Linked DNA regions of Homo sapiens: region 1 is linked to region 2. The links are contacts of gene promoters, found by promoter capture Hi-C in human tissues and cell types (Jung and others, 2019). All regions are on one chromosome and are shown on one strand. Each heading gives the region's core, a stretch centred on a gene start or on the middle of the fragment in contact. The rest is flanking DNA. Distances are from core to core; before and after follow the strand shown.

Region 1 (6,699 bases), core at 3,551-6,050, 790 kb before region 2:
TGCTCACACCTTTAAGTGGGGTTAAATATACTTGGTAATTGTTTTCTTCTTAACCAGATTGTCCTTAAGGGCAAAGAGTGCGTGTCTTACATTTCTTTAAAATTTGCCCCATTTCCGTCGTCCCACCAGCCCCTTAGACTTAGTGCTTAATGTTTTTAAACAAACAAATGAATATTAAAGTAGGCAATCTTTTATTGACTTTGTATCTTGTCTTGAAAAGGAGTTGATTACTGTTAAAATTCTCTTAAAAATATGTTTTGAGTTCTGGGAATATACATTGCAAGGTTCAAGTTTGTTTTGACTTTCTAATTGTATAATTAGAGAGGAGTAGCTCACTCAGGAATTACTGTTGTGAATGATAAGCTTTTCCTCTTGGATGTGAGGTTGTGTTCAGATTAAAGACACTAATATGGTATACCAGCAATTACACAGTTTAAGGCAACTAAGTTACATCTATAGACCATATCATTTTACATGAATATAATACTTCTATTTCCATAAATAATTCCGAATGCTTGGAGAAAACACTAGTTTTTATTCCCCAAAATCATTGTCTTTGAAACCTCCTTAAATAGCCATAAGACTAGCAACTCATGCCTTGAAAAAGGTAGTCACTGATATCAACACTGTTTGAGAATTGGAAAAACATTTCCAGGACAAGCACAGTGGCTCACACCTGTAAACCCAGAACTCTGGGAGGCTGAGGTGGGAGGATTGCTTGAGGCCAGGAGTTCGAGACCAGCCTAGGCTACACGGCAAGACCTCGTCTCTCCAAAAAAAAAAAAAAAAAAAAAAAAATTAGCCAGGCATGGTGGCACATGCCTATAGTCCTAGCTCCCAGGAGTTTGAGGTTACAGTGAGCTATGGTCTCACCACTGCACTCTAGCCTGGGTGACAGAGCAGGACCCAATTTTGAAAGAAAGAAAGAAAGAATTAATTTCCAGTTCTCTTTGATAAATTCTCAGTGTTAACGACTAAGACAGAATCCATCCTTTTTTCAACTGTATGGTTCTATATGATACCTTTGATAGTTAAGCTATATTAGTTTATTACCATACATTTGGATAGTTAGCAATCAATAAGTTTTGTGCTATCTGTGAAAAATAATCTGGTAGTAAGATAAAAGTGTGCATAACTTATTTTCTGCTTCAGTACTTAACATAGTTACTATTTTCTTGAAGACTGTAGTTTTGTAATACTATGCTCTTTGGTGAGACAAAGCGTTCTGAAATTTGTGAACACTTCTTATTTCCTGGTAATTATTTTTTTTGGCCCCCCCAGTTTGACTTTTCTTTCTTTTTGGCTTCTTATATCACTGTCCCACGTTAAAAAATTTAACAGATTTTAAGATGTCTTTTGGCTTAAATTGCAAACAATTACATTTGAAAATTAATGAACTTCGCGAAATTTAGTCCAGCCTATATGAAAAAGAAAACTGTTGTCAGGGTGAGAATAGATGATTCGTGATTTCAGATTCTGCCACACCTTTACAAATATTTTTCACACTGTTGCCTTCAGAAAAATTCATTATGCTAATCCATCAAGCTTCAGTTCCTTCTTAATTGTTTTTTTCAAACGTCTCTTCTCACTGGTGGCTTGGCGCCATCTCTCACTGCTGACTTCAGAAATGAAATGTGATGATATGCTGACATACCAGTGTCACAAGCTTTGTTACCTTTGAAAATCATTATCTTTGAAACTTCTGCAAGTAGCCACAAAACGAGTGACTCATACCTTTTTTATTTTTTTCCAACTTTTATTTTAGAATCAGGGGAGTCCATGTGCAGGTTTATTACCAGGGTATATTGTGTGATGCTGAGGGTTGGGGTACAAGTAATCCCATCACCCAGGTACTGAGCATAGTACTCAACAGTTAGTTTTTCAACCCTGTTCCCCTCCCTCCTGTGCCTCATACCTCAAAAGAGATGGTCATTGAAGTCAGTACTGTTTCAGAATTAGGAAAACATTTTCAGTTGTCTTTGAGAAATCCTAAGTGTCAATCTTAGAGCTTGAGGAAACAAACAAACAACAACCAGAATTCACCACTTTTTCAACTGTGTGCTTTTTCTTTGATACCTCTGATAATTTAGCTATGTTACCTTATTACTGTACTTGCATGTTGTAAATGATCAATACATGGTTTTTAAATTGAGTAGGGTATCTACAAGACACACTTAACTGCATAATTTGTGTCTAAATATGTCATGTATGTATTTTTTTTGTGTGACTCACTTATAGAAAGGACTTCCCTGTTGTGGTTCTTCGGTTGAGATAATTAACACCTCAAAATATCATATATAGTTCTGAATTTCTAGAGTTTTATTAGTTGTAAAGTGATTTTAGAAATGCACTCTGATTCTAAATGTTTGTCATGTGGATAGAAATTTTGCTATGAATAATACATTTTCATTAAAATAAAGACGTGTTTTTCATGCTATATATATATATATATTTTTTTTTTTTTAGTGTAATTGCCCATTTGTTCTTTTTTTTGTTTGTTTGTTTTTTTGATATGGAGTCTCACTCTGCCACCCAGTCTGGAGGGGAGTGGTGTGATCTCAGCTCACTGTAACCTCTGCCTCTCAGGTTCAAGTGATTCTCCTGCCTCAGCGTCCCAAGTAGCTGAGATTACAGGCATGCCCCACCATGCTGGGCTAATTTTTGTATTTTCAGTAGAGATAGGGTTTTGCCATGTTGGCCAGGCTGGTCTCAAACTCCTGACTTCAAGTAATCCACCCACCTCGGCCTCCCAAAGTGCTGGGATTACAGGCGTGAACCACCACACCTGGCCTGATTTTTTTTTATTGTATATTTCTAGTTAGGTGTTCCTTTGTTATATCAAACTCAGTATACCTATAGCTTGCCATATCATCTTTTCTTCTAATTCTGCTCTTCCTGCCAACTTTCCAACTTTTATTCCACCTTGAAATTTTAGAAATTTTGCTTAAACTGTCTTAGCTCTTTAAGGTCTAATAAGCCAAATCTTGTCTCCCAGATTTTTCACTTCTCCTGGGATTATTTCAGTCCAGAAAAATTTCAATTTATTGTTAAATTGCTAAAGTAACCTTCTGACTTCATCTCTAGTTTCCATCCCTACCACTCCAATTCATCTGGCATACAGATGCATATTAATTTTCTTAGGCAACCCTTGCATATTTTCTTTTGCAACCCCTGATAGATTACTACAAAGCCTAAGATTTCAAGAGTTCCCTGTGATCCTTAAGATGAGTCTGTACTCCTCAAAGAAGCTCTTAAGAGTCTCCAGGAGATCTCCAGGAGATCTCACTACATTGCCCAGGTTGGTCTCAAACTCCTGACCTCAAGTGAGCCTCCTGCCTCGGCCTCCCAAAGTGTTGGCATTACAGGCATGAGCCACTGTGCCCAGCCCCAGCTGCTTCCTGTTCATGTTAATACTTGGTATAGTCTTTTTAATTTCCACTTGCTGGTGGGTGTAAAATGCTATAATATTGGAGCTTTAATTCACAGCTTCATGAGTTTTTTACTGGCCTCTTTGGCCCATATTGAATTATTATCTGTGAGTTCCCAGGCACTTATCATCTGTGCTACTTACTACTTTTAGTTCTATGTGACATTCTGATGCCATTGAATTATTTCAAGAGTATCTCCCACATCTCCAGATGGGCTGTACCTTCTAGAAGGGAATATTTGTCTCTTATTGTTTACTGTCTGGAGTCTGGAGTGCTTAGCCAAGCACTGGACCCAAATTGATTGCTTCAGACCAGAGCTAAAAACTGCAAGGTTAGACCTTCTGAATTAGAAGTGTACTCATTTTTGTTAAGTCCACAAAGATTAAAAAATTCCAAAATGTAGATGGGTGCATTCACATGACATTACTGAAGATGAGCAAAAACATTCCCTAAATATCCTGCTGGCTTTTATTTTTCCTAGTGTAAAAAGATGAGTATTGTTGAAATACATTCCCTTGTCTTCATGGCTTTTGCAAAGTTTCACTCTATACATTGCTTCAGTTATCCAATATACGTGACCAAGGTTAAATGGTTCTTGGTGCTTTATTTGTCTTAGTTTTTGTGGCTAGCTTGTGTGGTGCTCCTTAAACTGGTCTTTGGTGAACACCTCTTATTTGTGATAAAACAACAATGCCATCAATCAGTTCTTTAACAATTGTGTTGTGCCAAAACATTTCGTTGGTTCTGCGAAAAGAAAGTGTTAGGTCAATTACATATTGATGGAAATAAAGTAAATTGATAAAGCATTTCTCTTTAATCAAAAGTAAGACAGCTTTCGTATTGGGTACTTATTAACTTTTCTACCTACTTTCAACAGTGAGAAAGATAAGCATATAAATCTCATTGATTTTAATCTTTGCTTTTCTAAAGCTTCACAAATTTGGAGTGACTTTGATAAAATTCAGTCAGAATTGTAGTTAATACTTTATGTTAGCTACATGTTTGCATATATTTTTCCTTCTAGACTGTAAATTCTCCGAGAGAGGGACCACATCTTTGTATCTCCAACACTTAACACAGGTGTTTATTAAAGGCATAACATGATCTACAACCACATCAGTAGCACAGACGAATCGCGCACACGGCGTGTTGAGGGAAAGAAGCCAGACACGAAAAAGAACATACTGCTTGATTCAGGGTTTGAATCCTAACTCTTCCCAAGTTACTGTATAACTTGGGAAAATTATAGTGTCCTTATCTGTAAACTGGGGATAATAATAGTACTCACTTCATAAAGTGTTGAGAGGATGAAAAATGGGAATGAGATTATCACTTGGAATTTTGGAACCTCAAAAGGTTTGATCCTGGCTTACTCTGTCCCAGATGAGCTTTGTGATCATGGGTGAGCTATTTAACCTCGCTGAACTTCAGTTTCCTCATCTATGCAATGGGGATCATGCCCCATCTACAGAATTGCTGTGGGAATTATGTTTACATAGTGGGTGCTCCAAAAATGGTAGTTGTCTTTGTTATCATTGTTATAATACAGCAAGTCCTATGTAGAGAGGCATTGCAATGATATAGGCAAGAAAGTGGCATATGGTGAAATCATAGTGAAATTAGCTCAACAAACGATGAAGGGTTTGAATTCTTCTAGGAATGCCAGTGAATTCTCAGTCATAGAGAAGGAAGTGACATCAAGAACAATAGCAAACAGATTCACAATCCCTTTCTCTTTCTTTCTTTCTTTCTTTCTTTCTTTCTTTCTTTCTTTCTTTCTTTCTTTCTTTCTTTCTTTCAATGGAGTCTCACTCTGTCACTCAGGCTGGAGTGCAGTGGTGTGATCTCGGCTCACTGCAACCTCCTCCTCCAGAGTTCAAGTGATTCTCCTGCCTCAGCCTCCCGAGTAGCTGGGATTACAGGCATGCACCACCATGCCCAGCTAATTTTTGTATTTTTAATAGAGACGAGGTTTCACTATGTTGGCTAGGCTGGTCTCGAACTCCTGACCTCAGGTGATCCACCTGCCTTGGCCTCCCAAAGTGCTGGGATTACAGGCATGAGCCACCACGCTTGGCCCACAATCCATTTCATACAATTAAGTTCAAGTAAAAACTGAAAGGAAAAATAAAGAAAACTCTATAGTAAAGGCTGTAACTTTTCCCACTGCAAGCCACAAGAACAAAGGCATCATTTTACATCATGGCCCAGTACACCTGTAATCCCAGCTTCTTGGGAGGCTGAGGCATGAGAATGGCTTGAACCTCGGAGGCAGAGGTTGCAGTAAGCAGAGATTGCACCACTGCACTCCAGCCTGGGTGACAGAGTGAGACCTTGTCTCAAAAATAAATACATACATACATACATACATACACACATACATAAGTAAATGGATCGCAGCCTGCAGCTTGAAAAACACTGCCTTAAACTAACCTACAAGTTGAAACCTTCTTGTTTAATTAACTTTTTGTCTTCAATTATGCATCTTTCTTCAGTCTATCTCCTTTCCTTCTTCACCTCCTTTGACCTTTCAAAGAAAATATGGATTAAAATGCATTTCCACCTTTTGATTTTGAGGTGAACGATGTTGAAGGAAAGCCATTTAAATGTGATATAGCAATAGCTTCTAAGATATTTATTACTGTTTATTTAGGTGTAAGTTGAAAGAAAAAAAATTACAATGCTATTTTGACAAATGTCTCAGTAAAAGTATTCCACAACCAGAGTCTTGATTTTATGACTCTAACTGGGTAATACAAACATTGGATTCATATAAAAACAACACTTTTAGACTTTGGAGTACGCTGTTCCTCTGAAGAAAATGAAATAGAATAATAGAAAACTTGTATTTAGAACTTATCCTTGATTTTATTTCCTCTTTTTGATCCAGTTTCAAACTTATGACTGAAAAGAAAAATAGGATAGTCTTATACTCTGGTTTTGATTGTTGTAGGTATCATAAAAATTGTAATATCTGAGATTTTTTTTTTTAAAAAGCTCTATGTTGAAGTCTTTGAATTTTAGCTTTTTCTATGTTTTATTCGTTCTGTTTTTGAATTACACCACCCTAAATGACTATTTATCATCTAATATGTTGGATATAATACACTTGTTTCCACAGACGGTCTGGCAGAACAACAGTTCTGCCTAAATTTCAATTCAGGTGGGCAAACATTTGTGGTGCACCTTGTAGCCGGTGGTAATGCATGGACTAGGGGCTGGGTTCATAAATCGAGGCCGTGGTCATTGCTTTCCTAGAGCTGGAATGGGG
Region 2 (7,022 bases), core at 41-2,540:
GGCCCTGAAGTCATCGGCAGCCAGTTTGGCATTATCAATGTTCACAACCATCCTGGCATTCTCTGCCTTGGTACACAGAATCTGTAGGCCAAGGCACATGGAGAGGGTTAGTTCAGGATGAGACGAAGCAAGAAGAACCCAAATGAAGAGAAGACAGCAGCAAAGGTAGGATCCAGCAGCCCTGCAGCCATCCCTGCAGAAGGTCCTCTTCCCTGGAACTCTGGGAGATATTTAGCGAATTGCTAGTCCTTGGAGAACTTGAGATGTATTTTTTAAGAACCTGAAGCTTCGTAAATTCAAATTCCCCATTTTGGATGTGCCAAGCAATGTGGAAGGGAAGAATCTCATGTCTGAAGTCACTCATGTGACAGTTAGAAGGGTCTTTGACATTTACTGAAAACTTACCGTGGACCAGGGGCTGTTCCAAGCACTTGACCTGCATCATCTCATCAAATCCTTTTGACAACCCCATTAGATAACGACCATTATTATCCCTGTTTTACAGATGAGAAAACTGAGGCCTGGGGAAGGGATGGGACCCCCAAAGTCATGCAATGAGGCAATGGTAGAACTGAGACTAGATCCCAGATCTCTCCACATGAAAGCCTCAGGCTGAGTGCTCAAATTATAAAATAACCCTATGCCCTAGGGAAGTCTCTTTGTCCTGAACATAGCTTAATAAGCTAACGAGATTCCAATCTGGAATGCCAGCTAGTCCAGTTCCCTTCCCAGAGAGCCTATTCACCTCACCGCTGCCCTCACCTTCTGCTGGAGCTCCTCAATGGTCCTGAAATGAGACTGGTAGTCAGGAGTCATGGTGAGCACCTGGGAGTGAGAGGCCTCTTGGATCCTGCTCTCCAGCTCCGCATTCTCCTGCTCCAGCTGCCGCACCCTCGTCAGGTAGCTGGCCAGGCGGTCGTTAAGGAACTGCATGGTTTCCTTCTCATTGCCATTGAAGGCCCCTTCGCTGTACCAGCTGCCGGGGCCCATGGAGCCGGAGATGCCACTGGCTGCCTGGCAGGAACTGGATAGATAGGTTTTGGAGAGGCAGCTGGCTGGCCGGAAGGTGGTGGGCAGGCAGACCGAAGGCAGGCATGCCATGGGCTGGCAGACATAGCCCAGGCACAGCTCAGGCCGGCAGTTCACGCCGCTGGAACAGACCGAGGCAGGCCGGGGGCAGCTCTTGAGAGAGGCTTGCAAGTTGTTGGTGACACAGCAGGAGGATGTCATGTTGGAGAGGCCCTTTCTCCTCAGCCACAGCTACCTGGATGTCTACAGACCCCATGCCGCCCGGGCCATTTTATGCCCTTGCAGTGAGGGGGCTCATGATAGAAATTCATCATTGGGTGGTGTTGATGTTCACACCCAGCCCCAGAGGAAGCTGCTAATTAATTTGTAATTTGGTTTCCAATAAAAGAGGCCAAACTTATCATTTGGCTAAAGCAGGAGTCTGGGTTCCTGTCATTGATCACCATGAGAGAGCTTCAGGACACATCTTCAAAGGGTCAGCCGCATGCCTGGGCCCTCATTACTAGGGCAGGCCCTCCAGGAGACTGCCACAACCCAGCCTGTGCCTCCACTGGCTTTGCCCACTGCACCCCCGCCTGCTCTAGCCCTGAGAAGCCTGCAGGTCTGTGCAGCAGTGGCTGCCTCTTTTAATGAAAGCATTCCCCATGGGAAGAGGCCTGGCTATTTAACAAGGAAATGTGTGGGTGGTAGAAACTGCTCCGATGCTGGCAGCGGCATAAATCCAGCAGAAAGGAACAGGAACCTCAGAGGCTTCCTAACAGACATCATCTTCCTGCCAAGGGGAAGAAAATAATATCAGTGGGGAGAGAATGAACTCAAGACATAGGCAGCATCACTTCTCAGCCTTTTGGCTAAGATCAAGTGTGGTATCTGTTCTTATCGTCTTAATATCTGATACGTCCTCCATCTGAGGACAACATATTAAATGGATTTTGGGAGCAGGGAGATGGAATAAGAGCTTGCTCTGTTCACTCTACATGTTGACCTGGTATTGCAGTACCTCCAGGAATGCTGCACCCCTTCAAAAGGCAAAAAAAAAAAAAAAAAAAAGACCCAAACAGAAGCCTAAGAATCAGGTACATCTTTCCAGTTGGTCTCTTCCTCTTGGAAAAGTCCATATCATGAACATCTCCAGGTGGCAGCTGCTCTGTCTTGACCCCCTCTGGACCATCCATTCAATTATCACTGCACCATATACACAATTGTCAAGTGCTCAATAATTGTTTGTTGAACAGACTGAGAATAGTTGGAACAGGTTCTACTTTTACTTTCTGTTGTGGCAGATGGGGAAGGCTCACTTCAGGATCTCAGACTATGGAAGCAGTGTGAATCCACTCCCTTGGGAAAGGATGTTCTATAGCCCTGGAATGAGCTAAGCCAGGAGACAGGGAGCATATTTGCCCAACTATAGAAGCCCTGGGCATTCACTTAAGAAGGCAACATGCTAGAGCAGTGGTTTTCAGTCCTGGCTGCAAAAGCTGTGAGCTTCACATTTAGTATGTGTGTGCTATATAGCCACTTTTTTATTCAGTAATCTTCTTGATATAATTTTGGGGTATAAGTACTTGCCTTATGTTTCACATATTCCCAGAAATGTCAGTACAAGAACAGGAAAGGGAAAATGCCACCCAGCTCATTCATTGCATAAGAAAAGGAGAGCGTAGATATACTGCCTCTGACTTGCCATTTGGCCTTGGGAAAGTAATTTTGTCTCTCCAGACCTCAGTTTCTTCATGCCAATCGAGGGGGTCAGATCAAATACTCTCACAATTTGATTCTCTGCAACAACTACAAATTCCAGTACCTTGTCTGGATTACCTATTTAGAGAAGATTATAGCATCAGATGGAAGGAGGTGTGATGGCAATACCAACTACAAGGGATGAGACTCATCAGGCCACCCTTCAGAATCATAGCCAGCACTTGTGGAATGTATACAAATACCAGGCATGGTGCTGAGTGCTTGGCATTAATTTGCCCATTTAATCCTCTCACCCAAAAACTATAATTATTATAATAAGGTGTTATCAGTCACTCTCAGCATCAACCTGACTCAGGAACATGTTAGAAATGTGAGTTTTCACCCTAGAAGAAAGTCTAGGCAATACCATTCAGGACATAGGCATGGGCAAAGACTTCATGACTAAAACAGCAAAAGCAATTGCAACAAAAGCCAAAGTTGACAAATGGGATCTAATTCAACTAAAGAGCTTCTGCACAGCAAAAGAAACTGTTATCAGAGTCAGCAGGCAACCTATAGAATTGGAGAAAATTTTTGCAATCTACCCATCTGACAAAGGTCTAATATCCAGAATCTACAAGGAGCTTAAACAAATTTACAAGAAAATAACAAACAACCCCATCAAAAAGTGGGCAAAGGATATGAACAGGCACTTCTCAAAAGAAGACATTTATGTGGCCAAGAAACATATGAAAAAAAGCTCATCATCACTGGTCATTAGAGAAATGCAAATCAAAACCACAATGAGATACCATCTCATGCCAGTTAGAATGGTGATCATTAACAAGTCTGGTAACAACAGATGCTGGCAAGGCTGTGGAGAAATGGGAAAGCTTTTACACTGTTGGTGGGAGTGTAAATTAGTTCAACCATTGTGGAAGACAGCATGGTGATTCCTCAATGATCTAAAACCAGAAATACCATTTGACCCAGCAATCCCATTACTGGGTATATACCCAAAGGATTATAAATCTTTCTACTATAAAGACACATGCACAAGTATGTTTATTGCAGCACTATTTACAATAGCAAAGACTTGGAACCAACCCAAATGCCCATCAATGACAGACTGGATAAAGAAAATGTGGCACATATATACCATGAAATACTATGCAGCCATAAAAAAGAATGAGTTCGTGTCTTTTGCAGGGACATGGATGAAGCTGGAAACCATCATTCTTAGCAAACCAACACAGGAACAGAAAACCGAACACCACATGTTCTCACTCATAAGTGGGAGTTGAACAATGAGAACACATGGACACAGGGAGGGGAACATCACACACCAGGGCCTGTCGGGGGATGGGGGGCAAGGGGAGAGAGAGCATTAGAACAAATACCTAATGCATGCGGGGCTTAAAACCTAGATGATGGGTTGATAGGTGCAGCAAACCACCATGGCACATGTATACCTATGCAACAAACCTGCACATTCTGCAAATGCATCCCAGAACTTAAAGTAAAATTTTTAAAAAAAAGAGTGTGATGTTCCCCTTCCTGTGTCCATGTGTTCTCATTTGTTGTGGGGTGGGGGGACGGGGGAGAGATAGCATTGGGAGATATACCTAATGCTAGATGACGAGTTAGTGGGTGCAGCACACCAGCATGGCACATGTATACATATGTAACTAACCTGCACATTGTGCACATGTACCCTAAAACTTAAAGTATAATAACAATAAAGAAAGAAAGAAGGCATAGATGTTGCAGTTTTTAAATATTTGCTATTTAATGTTGTTTTATTTAAACAATGTAGATACACTGCTTTGATAAAAATAAAAATAAAATGTAAAAAAAAAAGAAATGCAGTTTTTCAGGCTCATCCCAGACTGGCTGAATCAGAAACTCTGAGGCTGGGGCTGGGATGCAGCAGCCTGTGTTTAGCATGTCCTTCAGGTGGTTTGGAGACCCACTGAGATAGAGGAAGATACAGGCATACCTCAGAGATAGTGCATGTTCAGTTCTAGACCACCACAATAAAGCAAATGTAACCATAAAGTGAGTCACACAAACTTTTTGGTTTTTCTGTGTATGTAAACATTATATTTACACTATACTATAGTCTATTAAGTGTACCATAGCATTATGGCCTAAAAACAATGTATATAACTTAATTTTAAAAATGCTTTATTGCTAAAAATGCTAAGGATCATCTGAGCCTTCAGCAAGTTATAATCTTTTTGCTGGTGGAAGGTCTTGCCTCAATGTTGATGGCTGAGGACTGATCAGGGTGATGATTGCTGCAAGTTAGTGTGGCTGTGGCAATTTCTGAAAATGAGACATCAGTGAAGTTTGCCGCATCAGTTGACTCTTCCTTTCATGAAAGATTTCCCTGTAGCATGTGATGCTGTTTGATAGCATTTTAACAGTAGAAATTCTTTCAAAACTAGGGTCAGTCCTCTCAAACCCTGCCACTGCCTTATTAACTAAATTGATGTAGTATTCCAAATCCTTTGTTGCCATTTCAGTGATGTTCACAGCATCTTCACCAGGAGTAGTTTCCATCTCAAGAAACCACTTTCTTTGTTCATGAATAAGAAGCAGTTCCTCATCCGTTCGTTTTGCCATAACATGGCAACAATTCAGTCACATCTTCAGGCTCCAATTCTAATTTTAATTCTCTTGCTGTTTCCAACACATCTATAGTTACTTCCTCTGCTGAAGTCTTAAGCCCCTCAACATCATACATGAGAGTTGGAATCAACTTCTTCCAAACTCCTGTTAATGTTGATATTTTGACCTCCTCTCTTGAATCACAAATATTGACATATAGAATAGTGAATCCTCTTCAGAAGGTTTTCAATTTACTTTGCCCAGATCCATCAGAGGAATCACTCTGTATGGCAGCTATAGCCTTATGAAATATATTTCTTAGGTAATAAGACTTGAAAGTCAAAATTAGTTTTTGATCCATGGGCTGTGGAATGGATGTTGTGTTGGCAAACACAAAAACATTAATCTCCTTGGACAGCTCCATCAGGGCTCTTGGGTGATCAGATGCATTGTCAATGAGCAGAAATATTTTGAAAGAAACCTTTTATTCTAAGCAGTAGGTCTCAACAGTGGGCTTAAAATATTCAGTAAACCATGTTATAAACAGATGCACTGTCGTCCAGGCTTTGTCGTTCCGTTTGTAGTGCACAGGCAGAAAAGATTTAGCATCATTCTTAAGTGCCCTAGGATATTCAGAATGGTAAATGAGCATTGACTTCCCACTTGAAGTCATCAGCTGCATTAGCTCCTAGCAAGAGAGTCAGCCCATCCTTTGAAGGTTTTGAAGGCAGACTCCTCCTGTCTAGCTATGAAAGATGCCGCCTCCCTAAACTTCATCATTTCTAGCTTTTTATTTAAAGGGAGAAACCTGCAACTTTTCCTTTCACTTGAACTCTTAGAAGCCACGGTAGGGTTATTAATTGGCCTAATTTCAATATTGCTGTGTCTCAGAAAATAGGTAGACCCAAAATAGGGAGAGAGATGGGGGAATGGCCAGTTGGTGGAGCCATCAGAACGCACGCAACGTTTATCAGTTAGGTTCCCCATCTTATCTGGGCATGGTTTGGTGCATCCCAGAACAATTACAACAGTAATATCAAAGATTACTGACCACAGATCACCATAACACATACAATAATGAAAAAGTTTGGCCAGCCGCAGTGGCTCACACCTGTAATCCCAGCACTTTGGGAGGCTGAGGTGGGCAGATCACTTGAGGTCAAGAGTTCGAGACCAGCCTGGCCAACATGACGAAACCCCATCTCTACTGAAATTACAAAAATTAGCCAGGCGTGGTGTGCCTGTAATCCCAGCTACTTGGGAGGCTGAGGCACGAGAATTGCTTGAACCCAGGAGGCAGAGGTTGCAGTGAGCCGAGATCACGCCACTGCACTCCAGCCTGGGCAGACAGCCAGATTCTGTCTCAAAAAAAAAGAAAAAGAAAAAATTTGTATTGTGAGAATTACCAAAATGTGACACAGAGACACATAAGCACATGCTGTTGGAAAAATTAGCACCAACAGACTTGCTCTAGGCAGGATTGGCACAAAACTTTAATTTGTAAAAAAAAAAAAAAAAAAAGAAAGAAAAAAGAAAAAAAAACGATATCTGGGAAGTATAATAAATTGAAACTCAATAAATCGAAGTGTGCCTGCATATATTTTAACAGCTGTCACCAGAATTCATCTTGCAGGAAAAAAAATGTCTTTACTTGGGAAACTACATTAAGAAGATCTTGGGTTAAAAGGTGGGACCCTAAT

Evidence for each region. The method cuts DNA at HindIII sites, captures the fragments that hold promoters and counts their contacts. A contact is called where the count stands out against the background at its distance.
Region 1: a fragment that was not itself captured here is called in contact with the fragment with the promoter of KRT32 in region 2 in 1 of the 25 tissues and cell types used here (lymphoblastoid cells).

The regions. Positions count from the first base shown.
Region 1 is chr17:40,677,484-40,684,182 of GRCh38, forward strand. The region is part of intron 1 of LOC105371775 (a long non-coding RNA gene); the gene reads left to right. Among named protein-coding and RNA genes, the nearest start is that of KRT222, 16 kb to the left of the region's middle. The HindIII fragment of the contact is 3,576 bases long and covers 3,013-6,588 here.
Region 2 is chr17:41,466,096-41,473,117 of GRCh38, forward strand. It overlaps KRT32 (keratin 32), which reads right to left and starts at 1,291. Exons shown (of 7, transcript NM_002278.3): 1 at 763-1,291; 2 at 1-81. The coding sequence starts at 1,230. It also overlaps the pseudogene RNU2-32P. The HindIII fragment of the contact is 5,955 bases long and covers 1-1,944 here.